Regions from separate parts of the Homo sapiens genome. Here region 1 is linked to region 2. The links are contacts of gene promoters, found by promoter capture Hi-C in human tissues and cell types (Jung and others, 2019). All regions are on one chromosome and are shown on one strand. The core of a region is centred on a gene start or on the middle of the fragment in contact, and the rest is flanking DNA. Distances in the headings are between cores, read along the strand shown.

Evidence for each region. Contacts are between HindIII fragments. The study calls those that stand out against the background at their distance.
Region 1: a fragment that was not itself captured here is called in contact with the fragment with the promoter of LRRC7 in region 2 in 1 of the 25 tissues and cell types used here (dorsolateral prefrontal cortex).

What each region holds. Positions count from the first base shown.
Region 1 is chr1:68,581,653-68,587,147 of GRCh38, reverse strand. No RefSeq gene overlaps it. Among named protein-coding and RNA genes, the nearest start is that of DEPDC1, 87 kb to the right of the region's middle. The HindIII fragment of the contact is 4,640 bases long and covers 1-4,057 here.
Region 2 is chr1:69,564,616-69,570,413 of GRCh38, reverse strand. LRRC7 (leucine rich repeat containing 7) reads right to left here and starts at 2,492. Exons shown (of 27, transcript NM_001370785.2): 1 at 1,773-2,492. The coding sequence starts at 1,774. It overlaps LOC105378789 (a long non-coding RNA gene), which reads right to left. Exons shown (of 12, transcript XR_947488.3): 12 at 4,564-5,798. RefSeq lists a silencer at 2,839-3,068. The HindIII fragment of the contact is 6,759 bases long and covers 1-5,798 here.

The DNA of each region.
Region 1 (5,495 bases), core at 488-2,987, 980 kb after region 2:
TACCCAGTGAATACTTGTGGAGATAAGGAAAAAGATAACCAATCTGGCACTCAATATTAAACTATTTCTGGTAAAACTACATAAAAAACAAAGTTCATTTTCAAAAAGTAAAATTAACCACAATACAAAATGAATACATGTGCCAAGGATTTTATTTAATTCATTAAATAATGAGGGAACCAATAAGATGTTACAAATGGCAAAAGGGTAACTGAAAGAACTACACATATGTAGCACATAAGGGATGGTGAAATACATTTGCTGAATGATGAAAACCCAGTTAATACTCATAGAGAAAGTATCAGCTGCATTTCCAGGGGATATAATTTGTATTTCCACAGACAAGAAATCATTTGCATTTCTATCTGTATTATCAACCTTATAGAGTTGTGAAATAGCTTAAAGACAATAAAAACACTGGACGGAATACCTAATAGTCTTTTCTCCCCCATTTCAATCTTTCACAAATTTTTCTGACAAATTAAGATAAAAAATTGTAATACAGAAACAAGAATACCTTCCGTTTTACAAAATAGTATCCCAAAGGTTTAACTCAAAGAATAGCAATGTTTTTCTCTTTATTACTTTTAACTTGTTAGAAACCATTGATGACCTACGAAACAAAAATACTTATCATCTAAATTTCCTGTGAGACTAGAAGACTTCTAAGATACCATAAAATCAAATATTTTTTCTAAAAATTTTAATATGCAAAATTTAAGCAGCAGAGAATTCTAATGCCAGAACTAAAACCAGAATTCTGCTGGCTGCCCCTGCTAAATATCCATGCTCCCACTGCCATATTCAACCGTTGACAAATAGAGCAAATAAAGGTCATATATGCTTCTATGTTTGCTGATTGGAGCCTGTCATCTTTAACTTTTTTGTTTGTTTGTTTTGGTATATTGCTATACTTATCTTTCTTTTTTTTTCTTAACATCTCTCTCCCTCTCTTTCTACAGAGCTTATGTAGGCTGCTGAGGTCTATATTTCTAAAACTGGAATTTAGAACAAACATATGAATTACAAAGAAATATGCTTTATCAGTGATGTTTCAGGAATGCACAACATCCAGAGATTTAGATGTATCTGTACTGTTACCTTAGAGCCTGAAGTTAATGCCCAAGTTTTAAAACCACTTAATTCTTAAAGATCATTGCCACTGGCTGACAACTTGTTTTCACATCATTTCCTGTATGGATGGTGCATTAATCTCCCTGTCCATACATATTTCCTTGTCCAAAGATCAACATTGCATACTCTAGGTAGTGCATTACATCTTTCGAAATTACTTAGCAATTTGTTGCTGGAGAATGATTAACAAACATCAGAAAATATCTCCTCTGGGTTCAGGACATATATGATAAATAAAAAACCTGGTTAAGCATGGGATAAAATTCACATACTTAGCATGAATTTTGGTGCTAAGTTGGTCTACTGTGGCTTTCTAGCTGAGACACAGGAATTATGTAGGTGATAAAAAAAATCCCAAAATTATGGAAGGAGCTTCTGTTCATCTGTAGTCTAGAAAGGGACAAACCATGGCCAGCACACGTCAGCACAACTCTAACAGTTATGCATGGGTGGCAATTTAAGGGCATTTGTAGCAGCTGCTAGAGTGCTTCCCGTCCAGGATTTTGTTATGCTGGTTTTGAAAAGACACTATCAAACTTTATGCCAGCTATTACATTAGGCTGTTGGCAGCAGAAAGTTTATTCTGTCCTAGAAAATAGTAGGAGCACAATAGAAAGAGGCTCTTCTCCTCATTTCACCACAGTGCCCTCCTCAGCACATCTCCAGCTTTGTTGATGGAAGTTTATCCAGATTGTTGGGAGAAAGCTACTTCAAGAGTGTTTTGACTATACACAATAAATGGAAACAGTGATATTCTGAATAACTGAAAACCTGGAAAAGAAATCATAGGAACATTATTTTTATTTCCATAAAATTTATATCCAGGAGGTGCCGAAAAAGGATTTAAGATGATTCAAAATTCATTCAACTATCATTGGGCTAATTATAAACATGATATAATCTCCCCATGAAGAATTTAGTAGAAAGGTCAAAAACTAAAGTACCAAGGGAAGGAAGAGAAAGGAGTGATTAATTCTTCTCAGAAATAGTCCTAGAGGGCTTCACAAAATTAATCTGAACCTGGAAGTATACATTTAAAGACAAAGAGGAAGAAAATCATTTCCAAATGTCTCCTTGAAGGGCATACTGAGGGAATTAAATGTAGTTAGCTGTGTTGAGAAAAAGGGTACTTGATAAAGAGCAGGAGAAAGGGAAGCTGAAAAACAATGGGGCATATAATGCCTCAAATCAAAACAGCAGTATCATAAAGGGCATTGAATACCATGATAAAGGCTTTATACTTGACCTCTTGGTGACAGGGAGACACGAAGTGTAGAAAAACAGGTGCGGTATCCAGAAATCAGGTACAGAAAAGATTTCTTTTTTTTTTCAAATTGTAGTATTCATTTATTTTTAATGGTTTTTTTTATTATTATTATACTTTAAATTCTGAGATACATGTGCAAAATGTGCAGGTTTGTTACATAGGTATACATGTGCCATGGTGGTTTGCTGCACCTATCAACCCGTCATCTGCATTAGGTGTTTCTCCTAATACTATCCCTCCCCTAGCCCTCCACCCCCTGACAGGCCCCAGTGTGTGATGTTCCCCTCTCTGTGTCCATGTGTTCTCATTGTTCAACTCTCACTTATGAGTGAGAACACGTGGTGTTTGGTTTTCTGTTCTTGTATTAGTTTGCCGAGAATGATGGTTTCTAGCTTCATCTATGTCCTTGCAAAGGACATAAACTCATCTTTTTTATGGCTGCATAGTATTCCATGGTGTATATGTGCCACATTTTCTTTATCCAATCTATCATTGATGGACATTTGGGTTGGTTCCAAGTCTTTGCTATTGTGAACAGTGCCACAGTAAACATATGTGTGCATGTGTCTTTATAGCAGCATGATTTATAAACCTTTGGGTATATACCCAGTAATGGGATTGCTGGGCCAAATGGTATTTCTTGTTCTAGATCCTTGAGGAATCGCCACACTGTCTTCCACAATGGTTGAACTAATTTACACTCTCACCAACAGTGTAAAAGCGTTCCTGTTTCTCCACATCCTCTCCAGCATCTGTTCTTTCCTGACTTTTTAATGATCGACATTCTAACTGGCGTGAGATGGTATCTCATTGTGGTTTTGATTTGCATTTCTCTAATGACCAGTGATGATAAGCTTTTCCTCATATATTTATTGGCCACATAAATGTCTTCTTTTGAGAAGTGTCTGTTCATATCCTTTGCCCACTTTTTGATGGGTTGTTTTTTTCTTGTAAATTTGTTCAAGTTCTTTGTAGATTCTGGATATTAGCTCTTTGTCATATGGATAGATTGCAAAAATTTTCTCCCATTCTGTAGGTTGTCTGTTCGCTCTGCTGATAGTTTCTTTTGCTGTGCAGAGGTCTTTAGTTTAATTATATCCCATTTGTCAATTTTGGCTTTTGTGCCATTGTTTTTGGTGTTTTAGTCATGAAGTCTTTGCCCATGCCCATGTCCTCAATTGTATCGCCTAGGTTTTCTTGTAGGGTTTTTATGGTTTTAGGTCTTAGGTTTAAGTCTTTAATCCATCTTGAGTTCATTTTTGTCTAAGGTGTAAGGAAGGGATCCAGTTTCAGTTTTCTCCATATGGCTAGCCATTTTTCCCAGCACCATTTATTAAATAGAGACACCTTTCCCCGTTACTTGTTTTTGTCAGGTTTGTCAAAGAAAAGATGGTTGTAGACGTGTGGTGTTATTTCTGAGGCCTCTGTTCTGTTCCATTGGTCAATATACCTGTTTCGGTACCAGTACCATGCTGTTTTGGTTACTGTAGCCTTGTAGTATAGTTTGAAGTCAGATAGCATGCTGCCTCCAGCTTTGTTCTTTTTGCTTAGGACTGTCTTGGCTATATGGGCTGTTTTTTGGCTCCATATGAAATGTAAAGTAGTTTTGTCTAATTCTGTGAGGAAAGTCAATGGTAGCTTGATGGGAGTAGCATTGAATCTATAAATTACTTTGGGCAGTACAGCCATTTTCACGATATTGGTTCTTCCTATCCATGAGCATGGAATATTTTTCCATTTGTTTGTGTCCTCTCTTATTTCCTTGAGCAGCAGTTTGTAGTTCTCCTTGAAGAGGTCCTTCACATCCCTTGTAAGTTGTATTCTTAGGTATTTTATTCTCTCTGAAGCAATTGTGAATGGCAGTTAACTCACGATTTGGCTCTCTGTCTATTATTGGTGTATAGGGATGCTTGTGATTTTTGCACATTAATTTTGTATCCTGAGACTTTGCTGAAGTTGCTTATCAGCTTAAGGAGATTTCGAGCTGAGACAATGGGATTTTCTAAATATATAATCAAGTCATCTGCAAGCAGAGGCAATTTGACTTCCTCTCTTCCTATTTGAATACTCTTTATTTCTTTCTCTTGCCTGATTGCCCTGGCCAGAACTTCCAATACTATATTGAATAGGAGTGGAAAGAGAGGGCATCCTTGTCTTGTGGTGGTTTTCAAAGGAAATGCTTCCAGCTTTTGTCCTTTCGGTATGATATTGGCTCTAGGTGTGTCATACATAGCTCTTATTATTTTGAGATATGTTCCATCAATACCTAGTTTATTGAGAGTTTTTAGCATGAAGGGGTGTTGAATTTTATTGAAGGCCTTTTTTGCATCTGTTGAGATAATCATGTGGTTTTTTTGTCATTGGTTCTGTTTACATGATGGATTACATTTATTGATTTGCGTATGTTGAACCAGTTTTGCATCCCAGGGATGAAACCAACTTGATCATGGTGGATAAGCTTTTTGATGTGCTGCTGGATTTAGTTTGCCAGTATTTTATTGAGGATTTTCACATCGATGTTCATCAGGGATATCAAGAAAGGATTGGATAATGGTACCAAAGGCCACAGAGTGATCACAGAAGGAACAATTTGTATTTTGCTTCTCAACATCTTTAAAAGACTTTTTTATTTGGGGGAGGATTTCTGCTTCATGTGAAGTTCAAAGGACCGTGTCTCCACTACAGAAGCTAGAACATGCAGGGTTCATCAAGACAAGTGGGCCAGACTCAGGCAATTGGATGTTCCACCCAGGAATTTGAGTCTCAACAGAGGTTGGAAACATATAGAGACACTTAAGAATTCATAGTCAGTAACTGTGGAAGGGTCCAGTGTTCCTCAGCATTTAACTGAAGTGTGGTTTGGCCATTGGTCCTGTTAGTTTCCTTTGTTCCTTCTCCATTATCAAATCCTTGTTCCACAGCATTCTTTTTGGCTCTGTGAGCTACTCAAAGTCTTTCTCAGAAATTTCTTTTCAGTTTAACTCAGCAAGAGGCAGTTTCTATTGCTTACATCTAAGAACCCACACCAATACCAAGGACTGAAAGTAGATTTTGGTTTTGTTAATTCTTGGAAGAGCATTGGTTTTTGTACTGA
Region 2 (5,798 bases), core at 1,243-3,742:
GGCAGAGGCGAAGCTTTCAAACCGTTCACGCATGTCTACCTGTGCTTATTTTCCCTCTATTTCGCCTCCGATCAACTTTATTATTATTATTATTATTATTTTCCTTCTATAGGAGGACTTAAGCAACCAGGATGCTGAACATCTCATAGGCTCAGGCTGGAACAAAGAAAATCGAGTTCCTAATACTGTATCTCACCCGTTGGAGGGATCACGTGTCCTGCTTTCGCTGGAATGCACTCTTCTCGCCCACGCTATAAAAATCTCTATTGTGCTTAGAAATTTCGCCTAGGTTAGAATATGCTCACAAAAAATTGCTTTTCATCCACCAGGAGAGCCACATTTCGACATATACAGATACAAATCTATTTACCTGCTGACCCAGTTACCACTGCAGGTAAATTCGATGTGTTGAAAGAGTATTGGGAAAGTAATTGAAAAGAGCAGGGGGAGGACCCCTGTGTCTTACCGATCCCCACCCCCATCGCTTTTTTTTTTTTTTTTTTTTTTGTAATTCCTTTTGAAGGAGAACTTCGAAAGGAACGTGGGAGTCGCAGATGGTTCCTTTCTGAAGCCGATTCCTGGGAGTTGTGAAAGTGACCCCGTCTCTTCTCTGCCTCGAGCTGTGCCCTCTCGCCCAACCCGCTCGCTTTATGACTTGATGGGGAAGAGACAGCCAGAGAAGAGCCGGAGTAGAGGGCGGAGGCGGGTCCTTTATTCAGCCCTGATGGCCGAGAAGTAGTGTAAGGAAGCAATCTTTCAGCCATCTCCGTTATTATGAAGTCACACTATTTTAAAAGGCAATCTATACAGTCCCCCAACCCCCGCCCCCATTCTTGACTCTGCAAACAGTAAGATTAGAGACCACTGGTAGCCAATCTAATAGTCCACGAGCCAGGGTGCCATGATTACCTTAATGCTAATGTGCTTCCCTCCCTCTTTCCACGTCGAATCCGAAACACGTCCTGCATCCTTAATAACTCGGAGAGGAGGACGCAAGATCCTCAAGGGGACCCAGCGCTGGATTGGGAATAGGCAGGTTCACCAGCTTCTCGTGCCACACAAAGGAGATGTGTGGGCAGGAGTTGTCTAGCTGACAGGGAGGGAGGCAAGGTTCTCCCTGACTCCCAGGGAACACGCTCCCCCACTTCTTTCCGTCCTCCAGTCTTTCATGTTCCTTCGTCCCCTCCATCCCCCCAAACCCCACCCTTTCCCTTCAATCCCAATCACATAAAAATCTTCTAATTGTATTTTTTCAAACAGACATCGAGACATTGATACAACACCTTCCAAGATAAAGAGACAAGTGCGTCCTGCCACAAGTGTGTGTGAGTGTGTGTGTGTGTGTGTCACGATCAAACACGCGCTTCATCCCTCAGACACCTCTGGGAAAAAAGCTGACTGGAGATACCCAAGATAATAACGAGGAGCTAAACCTAATTTCAGCGGAACCAATGGTCCCAGCACCAGCGCCCAACATTTACCTTTCCTTTTCGCAGTATGTAACCCTTTAAGGTCTCTTGCCAGCTCAAGCTACTCGGTGCTCCCATGCACCCGCCCAGTTAGCACCCCATTTCCAAATGCTCTGCAACCTACCACATCTTCGCCGCCTCCCTCGGCCACCGCACAAGCAGCTCCCCGCGAGCGCCGAAGCCTCCCGCCCTGCCACCCCCGCCCCCGGCCGGCCTCTGGGGTCCCACACCTCGCGCGCCTACGGTCGCCGCGGCCGGGCCCCCGCAGCACCCTCCGCCACGGAGCGAGCGTGCCTTACTCACATCGCCGGCGGGAGAAACTGCCCATGAGGTTTCGGAGAGCGTAGTCGTGCAGCTGCCAAGGGTTATTCCTTAAGTGTTCAGGGGTCCGCAGTGGAGTGGGCGCCAGGGTCTTCGGAGGAGAAGAGGAGGGAAGGAGTAGAAGGTAGGAAGAACAGGAGATAGAGGGGAATCCAGGAAGGTGCCACGTTAGACCATGATGCCAGTGCCCTTCAGGTGGACGGCTGGAGAGGTTCCCGCGGGAAGCGGCTGAGGGGAAGCCCGAAGCGCCGGCGGGGGAGGCAGGAGCGCGTCCACTCCCCAGCCTCAGCCTGCCCAGCGCGCCGCGCTAGCGACCGCAGCAGCAGCGGCGGCGGCGGCGGCGGTGGCGGAGGCGCAGCTCCCTCCCCGCCCCCAGAAGGCTCCACAGACAATAAATCCTGGGCGGAGAAGAGACAAGCAGGAAAGGCGAATCCTGCACCCAACTCCGTAACAACCCCTGCCCGTTGCCGCGCCTGTGCAGGGCGAGGATCCCCAGGGGCCAGGGCGCAGCGGGCGTCTCGGAGGGGCTGAGCGCTCCGCAACTGCAGGAGGCGGTGGCGGTGGCCCGAGTGGGCGGCTGCAGGTCCCGCCGGCGAGAACCCGCTGCACTGGGGCTGGGTGTCCGTGGCTTCAAGCCCGGTGTTCACCCGGAGTAGGGTCCTCCTCGGTGCAGTGGCTCGGCGCACAGGTGCCAGGATTGGCAGGCGAGGAGGCGCCGCTCATGGCTCTTGGCTGTGTCTCACCGCTCTCCCCGCCCCCTCTCTTTTTTCCCACCCCCTTTTCCGACGACACCAGCTGCAGCTGCTTCAAAGTGTGAAAAATGTCAAGGAGATTTTCCAATGATAGGAGGGGGTAACCATGTTCACAACCCTCGGTCTCTTTTTGAGATCCTCGCCTGTCCCTCTGACCTCTACTCCGGCTCCCCCAAATTATGAGAAGAAAAATCCCAGTCCTGCACAGGATTGAAACGCTAGCCTTCTCCCGGCTCCGTCACGATAGGCTGCTTTTCGAGAACGGGACGAGAGGCCGAGCTCTCTGGGTTCCTCTCGCCTCCGTGGTGTTCGAGGCAGGTGGCACGAATCTCAGCGCGGGGCGGAGCGCGGCTGCCGGCTCCTCCCGCTCGCGGGCCAGCCCCGGGCGCTCGGGCAGCGCGGCGCGGCTTTCTGCAGCGCGGCCGCCTGAGCGGCAGAAGCGGCTCCCGGCCTGTGCGCCTGCCTGAGCGCCCCTGCACCCGCACTAGCTCAGTGACGCTGAGCTCGTGGCTCCTCAGGCTGCTGCTCCTGCTATCTCAGCAAAGAGGCGGCCGGGAGCGCCTCCTCGGGGTTTCCTCCCCCGCCCGCCTTGCCTGCTGCAGGTTGTTGGCTGCCAAGGAGAAAAGTCTCCGCTTGTGCGTCAGGTCGCTTCACATCAGTCATGGCAGCGAACCTTGTGCCTGCTCTTAAGTCCTCTCCTCATTCTGGGGTTGCGGCTGCTGCCCTGGGAGTGCACAAAAAGGGAAGGGTTTTCCCAACTTCCCTTCATATATTCACCGCCCCTCCTCCTGCCATGAACATTCTCTCTGACACACACACACACACACACACACACACACACACACACACACACTCTCTCTCTCTCTCTCATATGCTCCCTTACGTAAAGGCACACACACTTTCTTCTTATACGCTTCTCTAAAGTCCCAGAAGCAGCAAGACATATCAATGAAGCTAGTACTATATTTACACTTTTTTTTTTTTTTTTTGAAACGGAGTTTCGCTCTTGTTGACCAGGCTGGAGTACAATGGCGCGATCTCGGCTCACTGCAACCTCTTCCTCCCCGGTTCAAGCGATCTTCCTGCCTCAGCCTCCCGAGTAGCTGGGATTACAGGCGCGTGCCACCACGCCCGGATGATTTTTTTTGTATTTTTAGTAGAGACGGGGGTTTCACCATGTTGCCCAGGCTGGTCTCGAATTCCTGACCTCAGGTGATCCACCTGTCTCGGCCTCCCAAAATGCTGGGATTATAGACGTGAGCCACCGTTCCCAGCCTATATTTACACTTTTATTCTCTACACACATCTAATGAATTACATCTTTAAAAAAGGATATATTATGCTGGTATTCTTTTGTGGAATATAGGCTATGTGGTTTTTGTTTCTTCATTACAAGAGAGAAAGAATCTTGTCTTTAGTTCTCTAACCTCGAACACAGTCAAGACTGTGCACAGCATTCAAATGCCACTCTGGGGGTGTGTGTAAGCTCACAGTTTGCCAAAAGAAAACACACCTGATTGTATTCTTAGATTTGGAATGCTAAAGTCTTCAAGGTCAAAAATTATGTTTCCTGGCTGCTAGAAATTGTCTAGGAAGAGACTTGAGAGACTGGCACCTAATGTGCGGAGGACCTAGAGAGGAATTATTGCCCACTTTATCTGGGCCATGAAGGTGGGCTGACTTTTAAGGACAACTTGCCAGTGTTTCATATCATTTGCATATAGAAAGGAAAAGGAGTATATTTTGAAAAGCCAGATCGTTTTTTATATTGTTACAAAACACCAAAAGAAAGGGCTCTGAAAATGGCAAGGAAATGGAATAAAATTGTTAAAAGAATTTTTTTTGAATTGACTACTGTTGTGCTCTGTTTTTTTTTCACCTATAGTGTTGTCCTTTTAAACATTTTGCCACATCTCAATGTCTCTGCTGGATGAAGTGACATGAAATATTTTAGGTGCTGATTAAAAATGTATTGACAAAATAACCTGGCGCAACAATTACACAATTATAGCGGTCCTTTATGGGTTTCCAGTTCTTTTTAATACAGTCAACACAGTACTTTCACATATATTCTTTCATTTAATCCTTTCTTAAATCTAGGTGGTGGATAATCTAATCCACACTTACAGGAAGGGCACAAAGGCTCATCTCATAAGGGTGTCCAGTTGCCCTGCACTTGAGCCCAGAATTTCTTATTTTAACTTCAGGCTTCATTGTTTTGTATCAAAATATTTGACAAAAATTATTCTGTTTAAAAACACAGCCAGTTATGAGTAACTGCAGATCCTTGCATACAGGCAGCATACCTACCAATGAAGTTACCTTCTGTGTGTTAAGTGGAAGTAGTTTCCTACGTGGAAACAAACGTATTCCTTTCCAATGGAGAAAAAGATAATTTTGGAACCCCGAATTAAAAATTGATGGTGCTGATATAACACATTTCAAACTACATGTCCTCCTTTCCCATTTATCTTGTCCTAGAATCTTGATTTTGGACCATAAAAATCCAATGGATAAAATACTTTAAATATGTTCAGATGTCCACCTAATTGTTATGGGTTTTAACAAACAGGATTATAAGGTGTAAAGAGAAGGTATTCTCTTTAGAATAAGCTTTGAATACAACGGCTCCATATTTTTGTAAGATTATGAATCTTGAACAAAATCTGGCCACCTTTACTATTTAAACAATGAGACATTGAAGAGATTTCAGTGGTTTCATAGAATTATGGAACTATTGAAATGCAAATGCAGGTGCTGTCTTTAAACTTCAAGCTGCCCTGTCATCAACCCTCTGGAAATGCAGATGACTGTCTAAAAATTGGAGAAAGATAAATGCTAAATATACTTTGGATGTTGTTCAAGCAGAGGCCCAACACTAAAAACTATCACCATTTTACAAATTAGATCAAGGCAGTTTTAACAGATTTGATGTTCCTATTACATCTATAAATGTTTAGACATTAAGGCTATAAAATTTTGCAAGTTGTTAATCAATTTCTTTGACCCACACTGCTAAAATCTTTGAAATGATAATGCTTCTTAGGATAAGCAAGACTAACCTTATTTGAAAATAAAACTCATGGCGATATTAAACAATAAGATGTCAAATATCTTTGAATATTTCCCTTTGGATGCCTGAAATGCTACACTTGTCGTAAAAGATATCCCCTTTGGCAATTACTCATTAAAATAAAAGTACATATAGACAGGATAACACTTTTAGTTTTTGAGTTGTTAGTATCTTAACAGGATT